Regions from separate parts of the Homo sapiens genome. Here region 2 is linked to region 1. Evidence: promoter capture Hi-C in human tissues and cell types (Jung and others, 2019). All regions are on one chromosome and are shown on one strand. Each heading gives the region's core, a stretch centred on a gene start or on the middle of the fragment in contact. The rest is flanking DNA. Distances are from core to core; before and after follow the strand shown. Region 1 holds the start of KCNK9 (potassium two pore domain channel subfamily K member 9). Region 2 overlaps KCNK9 (potassium two pore domain channel subfamily K member 9).

The links. The method cuts DNA at HindIII sites, captures the fragments that hold promoters and counts their contacts. A contact is called where the count stands out against the background at its distance.
Region 2: a contact is called between a fragment that was not itself captured here and the fragment with the promoter of KCNK9 in region 1, in 3 of the 25 tissues and cell types used here (dorsolateral prefrontal cortex, pancreas and spleen).

What each region holds. Positions count from the first base shown.
Region 1 is chr8:139,701,701-139,704,842 of GRCh38, forward strand. KCNK9 (potassium two pore domain channel subfamily K member 9) reads right to left here and starts at 1,423. Exons shown (of 2, transcript NM_001282534.2): 1 at 1,010-1,423. The coding sequence starts at 1,292. RefSeq lists a silencer at 1,146-1,440. The HindIII fragment of the contact is 18,854 bases long and covers 1-3,142 here.
Region 2 is chr8:139,657,157-139,660,298 of GRCh38, forward strand. The region is part of intron 1 of KCNK9 (potassium two pore domain channel subfamily K member 9); the gene reads right to left. Among named protein-coding and RNA genes, the nearest start is that of KCNK9, 44 kb to the right of the region's middle. The HindIII fragment of the contact is 3,634 bases long and covers 1-3,142 here.

The sequences.
Region 1 (3,142 bases), core at 173-2,672:
ACCACCCTGCCTCCTGCCATGCAGGGTATCCACCACGTCCACCCGAATGAAGGTACCTGCCCCAGCTCCCACAGGTCTCCAAGTATAACGTCCGGGAGTCCTCCCAGCCCCCAGCCTTAGAGGGGACACTGCCCTCGGGACCGACCAGAGACCCTGCTCTGTGAATAGCGCCCTTGGCAGTGGGGCTGGCGGGCATCCCTGCAGTTTACCAGCTGGACCCCCTCTCGTGACTGGGGCTCAAGTTCCCTGGTTTCTGGGCAATGTCTAGACTGGCCTTTCCCAGTGTCACAGCCTAGGGAGTGGGCAGGTTCTGCCCTGCCCCCACTCTCCACCTCTACTGAGAGCAATTGAGGGGCTGCCACCCCCAACGCAAGCACCAGAGAGCAAACTCTCTCCTCCCAGGGGCCTGGGAAGTCCAAGCTCCAGAACTGGAACTCAGGGGAAAAAAGGAGCCGGGCGGGGGGAAGAGAGATGAAATCTGAGCTCAGAGAAGCCTGGAGCGGGGCCCAGGGGCTACGGAGGGTCAGTGCCTCTCACGCCCCAGGCGCACTCCCCTGCCACCTGAGTCCCTCTAGGAGCCATGGGTGCCAGGCCAGCCCTCTCCAACTCCCAGAGAGGTAGTAAGTGTAAGGCTCAGAGCCCCGCGCAGCCCAGCCCGCGCCGGGGCGGTGGGTGGGTGGGTGTCTGCTATGGGATTATTCTTAGCGCTCCACTCTCTTCGCAAAAGTGGCGCCTCCGCCCTCCCGGCTCAGGCACACTCGCTCGGGGCTCGCACGCCCGGCCCAGACACCAGCGCGGTGGAGAGCACCGGGTGGGGTCCCCGAAGGGTGAGGCTCGGAGGCGCCGCGGAGGGGGGGCTCCCTAGAGAGGAGGGGGCGCTGCGGGAAGGCCCCCAAGGGAGGCTGCGTTTAACCCTCGACGCCCTGCACCCAGCCCGGCGCGGCGCGCTCAGCCGCCTCCCCGGACTCCTCCCGGGGCGCGGGAGCCCAGCGGCGCGCCCAGCCCTTACCTATGGTGGTGATGACCGTGATCGCAAAGTAGAAGGAGCCGGCGAATTTCCACTGGACGCCGGCGCGGTGCGGTTCCGACTGCAGGATCACCAGCTCCAGCTGCCGGTAGTCCTCGCTGCTGATGTTGTACTTCCCCTTGATCCGGATCTCCTCGGCTTTGAGTTTCTCCTCCTCGCGCATCTCGTGGTCCGACTCGAGGGCGTCGAACACGGCGGCGCCCACCAGCAGGTAGGTGAAGGTGCAGACGATGAGGGACAGAGTCCGCACGTTCTGCCTCTTCATGGCCGCCAGCAAGGAGCCGGCGCGGGGGGCATGTCCCGCAGGCTCACAGCCGCGCGCGTCCCACTGCAGCGCCCGGCGGCCGCCGCCGCCTCCTCCTCCGCCGCCGCCGCCGCCGCCTCCAAGTTGTAAGCGGCGGCGGCAGCAGCAGCAGCAGCAGCGGGGAGGCGGGGGGCGGGGAGGCTGGGGGGGGCCCCCTCCGCTGGGGCCGCCACAGCCACCGCCACCGCGAGGCGGCTGGCGGGGCAGGGGCGGCGCGGGCCCGGGCTCAGCCGAGAAGGCGGACAGGCACAGGAGGCTGCTCGAGCGCCGGGGCCAGGCGTCCGGGAACCCCGACACCCTGCGCCAGACCCGGCCGAAGCAGCCCGCCCCACTGCGCAGGGCCATGCAGGGCGGCCCCGCTGGGTACCGCGCGGGCCTTGCTGCCCTCCGCACCCCGCCCCCCGCTCCCGCGGGAAACGCAGGGACGGGAACCGGAGCCAGAAAGCGGCCGGAGGGCGGCCGCGGGGCCCGGTACCCCTGTGGGTCCAGCTCGCGGGTGGCGGTGCCCAGCAAGGAGCCTGCAGGTCCGCGCGCCCAGCGGAACCTGCTTCCCCTTTTACCCCTCCTCGCCCCCTCTCGGTGGTGGGGAGGAAAAGTTTGCGAAGTGGCGGTGTCTCTGGAGTCCCCTGCAAGCGGGGAGGGGGCCGAGCAGGTGCAGCGGGAGGGGCAGCCCGCTCCCCAAAGGTCCGCGCGCCCAGCGCCCACCCGGGCGCGCGGGTGCGCAGCGGGGTCCCCGCCGGGCGTCGGCCGGTGCGCGAAGTTTGCTCGGCTCAACCCCCAAGGCGCGGGAGCGGGGCGCGGCCCCAGGACGGCAGGGACCGCGATGGAGCGGCTTCGGGGGCGGCCGGGGGACGGCGCGGTGGCGGTCGGCCAGCCCGCTCCTCCGGGGGCGGCGGGCGCGGCGGCGGCGGCGGGAGGGGTCCCGCGGGCCTCGCGGAGCAGCGGGGCGGACGCGGGCGCATGAGCCGCGCGGGGGTCGGGGCCCTCCGGCGTCCGGGCGTCCCGGGAGGCGGCCGCCGCGCTGGTCTGCCCCGGGCGCTACGTGCGTGCGCGCCGTTGGGAGCCCGAATGTGTGTGTGCGCGTGTGTATGTGCGTGTGTGTGTGTGTGTGTGTGTGCGCTTGGCAGCCCCGCTCCGGCGGGAGGGCCTCGGGGAGCGGGGGCCGGGCTACGCCGAGGCCGGGCCTCCCTCCCTCCCTCCCTCCCGCAGCCTCCAGGGCGCGCCACCTCCCGCCTGGTCCCCAGCCAGCTGGCGAGGCTGCTGTGGCAGCTCCCGCTGCAGACCCAGCGCGGCGCAGGGCGCACGCGGAGGGAGCCCGGGAGGGGCGGCCTGAGCCGCCAGGGAGGGGGCGGGGGCGGAGCCGCCGGCGGGTTTTGGCGGGGGATGGGAGGATAAACGCGGCTTCTTGGGTCCTTCTAGCCCCGCTCCCCAAGAGCGCAAGCAGCCCTGGCGGGTGGAGAGTTTGAGGGACTCGGGGTTGGAGGAGGAAAACGGGATTCAGCCAGAGATGGCAGGCTGACAGCTTCAGGCAGATTGGGCAGAGAGTGGGGAGCAGAAGGGGAGGGGGCCATGGGCACACAGGAGAGCGGCAGCAGCGGTTCACGAAGTCTTCCCCACCCCCCACCCCCCACCTAGCCACCCGGCGCGGGAGCGTGTCATTGGCCAGGGACATGGCCTCGTGGAGTGGTGGGGTCCCGAGGGCTGCCTCGGCCCCCTCGCCTCCCAGCGGCACAGCCCGCTTGGGCCAGCACCTGCAGACCCGAGTCGTTTCCCTGGAGAGCGCTAAGGACAGCATGGGCCGCCACTTTTGG
Region 2 (3,142 bases), core at 241-2,740, 44 kb before region 1:
GTGAGAATGGTGGGAAGGCAGGTGCTAGCTTGAGCCAGGATTGCACTCAAGCATTCTGGTGCCCCTAACTAGCTGTGTGCCCTTGGGTGGGTTGCTGAACCTCTCTGAGCTTAACTTCTCATGGGTCTGGCTAGAAAACCACCACCACTTGAGAGAATTTAGAACAGAGGGAATTCAATCCAGAACATTAGTCACAGAGGTGATGAGGAGAGCACAGGAAGCTGCTTCCACCCTTAGGCAGTGGGAGAAGGCAGGTCAGGATCAGGTCTCCCGGCCAGAGCAGGAGCCGGGGAGGACCTGTGGCAGCTGCCAGGGACACCACAGTGAACCCTCTCTGCCTGTGGAGCTTCTCATCATCCTGCCCTGTGAGCTTCCGGCACTGGCTCCCTGAACTAAAACCCCCCAGAGCCAAAACCCCCCAGAGCCAGAGAGCAATAGCGCCTGGGAAACTGAGCTTCCCACCATACACTGCAGAAGTGGGGGATGGATGGATCTGAGCATAGGGCGTTGACTGGGACACTCCCTTTCCCCATATGCAGAATGGAGATCATTGCTAAGCTGCACCGCATGGTCACTACTAACAAGGCCCCATTTTATTCATAAAAGCTTTGCATGAATTAACTTCCTGTCTCCTCACAGAGGAGGGACGTTATCACCCTGGCGGGTGGGGAGGCCTCTCCAGGACTCGCCTCTATCCCAGCGGTCCCCACCCACATCACCCCCATCCAGGCAGAGAACATGGCTGGCCCCTGCTCCCAGGATTCTCCCTGTCCAACAGCAGGTCTCCCCCACAGGACAGGCAGAGGAGATGACATGGTAGGGTGGGCAGATATATGGACAATGGGCTATGGTTTCCTGTTGGGTTTAGAATAAAATCTCAAGTCCTTGGTTGTATCAGGTCAGGGTCATGGCATGAAACAGGTCATGGCATCCACTCAGATGGATCAAATCAGGGCAAAGACCCTTGTCTTCAATGAAGAGAGAGTTTGCAGAGGCAAGGAGAGGTTGAGGGCACCAAGTAGGGCAGTAAGACACAAGGGGCTAGCAGGGGGCAGCTATTACCACCCACAGGCCTGAAGGGCTGAGAGGAGCCCAGTGAGCACTGCAGCCAGGGGCAGGGACCACCTAGTGGATGCTGTAAGTCATGGGGGGACAACCACTGCTGGAAAAGCTGAGCAGGGAAGGCACACCCATCCCAAAGCCCCATGGCTGGACCCACCTGGAGGCCAGCCCCCAGCTCTTTCCTCCAGAACACCCCACAATGTTGCTGAACACAAGGAAACCAGATGCGGGCCTCAGGCTACACGGGTCACGCCTGACTTCCCTGCTGCCCAGCAAGCCCCTAGCCACTGGTACCCTTTTCCTTTTCCGCAGCTCCCCCTCAATCCAAGCCTCACTACCTCCACTGTACAAAAGATACCACGGAGGGGAGAGCACAACCCCTGCCTTCTGGAATTCAGCCACACCCACCAAGAAACAAGAACTGGGTCCTGGATGCTATTCTCACAAACCAGATGTGTCCTCAGGGACTAGCTCTGTGAAACTGGCAGACTCCAGAGCCCCAGCTTTGCAGCTGAGAGGCCTGGACTTCCCCACGGTCACACTGCCTCCAAGTGCAGGGCCAGTGTCCAGGAAGCGAGGTGGCTCTCCTTCTGGGCTGTTCCCTGCCCATGTCCTGAGTCTGCCACTGCCCTTGGACCTGGCCTCTACTCCAGAGTCCACCTGCCTCAGGCACTGTCCGAGGTGCTGACCACTGCTGTGGATGAGGGTACACGGGAAGGACTAAGGTTTGCTGAGGCAGTTGTGGAAGGGGCAGCCCAGGAAAGCTCCCAGAAGGTCTGTGATTAGAGGTGAGTGTGAAGCAAAAATTCAAGTTTTGGGGGAAGACAAGTTAGCCAGAAAGGCATTCTAGGAGGAAGAAACAGCATGTATCAAGCCGCTGAGTCTTCGGGGCTTTGTGAGAGTCAAATGAATTCATAGGCAAGAAACCGCTCTGGGACCTAAACACCTGCGTGGATACGACCCTGACTCTTGGCCGCTGTCAGGGACTTGCTAAAGGTCCCTCACTTGCTAGGGGTGGCTCCAGGCTGGAGTCCTGACCCCCTGAGACCTGACCCAAGGCTTTCCCTATGCACTACAAGAGCTGCCTTCAAATATTTGAAACAAAGCTCATGCCTAGGACTGAGGGTTCAGGCTGAGTTTCCCCTCTTGTCTTTGTCCTTTGCCTCAGACACATTGATTAAAAATAGAGAATACTCCTCTCCCCCTATCCTCCAGCAGCAGGTGTTAGACCCCTGGCCTCTCTCTGGCTTGGACCCTACCCCTGTATTGGTGTGGAAAGATCTCGAGGATTTTATTTTTGTTGTTGTTGTTGAGACGGAGTCTCGCTCTGTCACCCAGGCTGGAGTGCAATGGCACAATCTCGGCTCACTGCAAGCTCCACCCCCCAGGTTCACGCCGTTCTCTTGCCTCAGCCACCCGAGTAGCTGGGACTACAGGAGCCCACCACCATGCCCAGCTAATTTTTTTTTTTTTTTTTTTGGTATTTTTAGTAGAGATGGGGTTTCACCATGTTAACCAGGATGGTCTCGATCTGACTTCATGATCCGCCTGCCTTGGCCTCCCAAAGTGCTGGGAATACGGGCGTGAGCCACTGCACCCGGCCTATTCTTACGAGATAAAGCAAGAGACAGAACAATGATCAAGTATACTGCCTTTTGTGCAAGAAAGGGGAGATAAGATAATATATATTTGTGTGTATACCAGAAACAATATATTGATTTTTAAAACAATCCCCTATTTGTGATAACAGGAAAAAGTGGGAGGGATGGAGATGGGATGGAAAGAACAGAGTGGGGTGGGAGTCTTAAGGAGCACCTTCATATTCTGTCTTCACAGAAGAACGATGTAGATGTGTTGCCTATTCAGTAAAATTGCTGGTCAGAACTATTGTATTTGTTTGCTTATTTTTCTGTGACCTCGGGCACATTTCAGAAGGTACACGTTGAGCCTCAACCTCTCTGGAATATTATTATATTAAATGGTAGAGCCCCTAAAAAGCACTTAGAGCACCCCTTCACAGGTAGCAAAAGCCTGTATAACAGCCCGCGATGAAGACTGGCGACAGGCCCCTGGCTCCTCC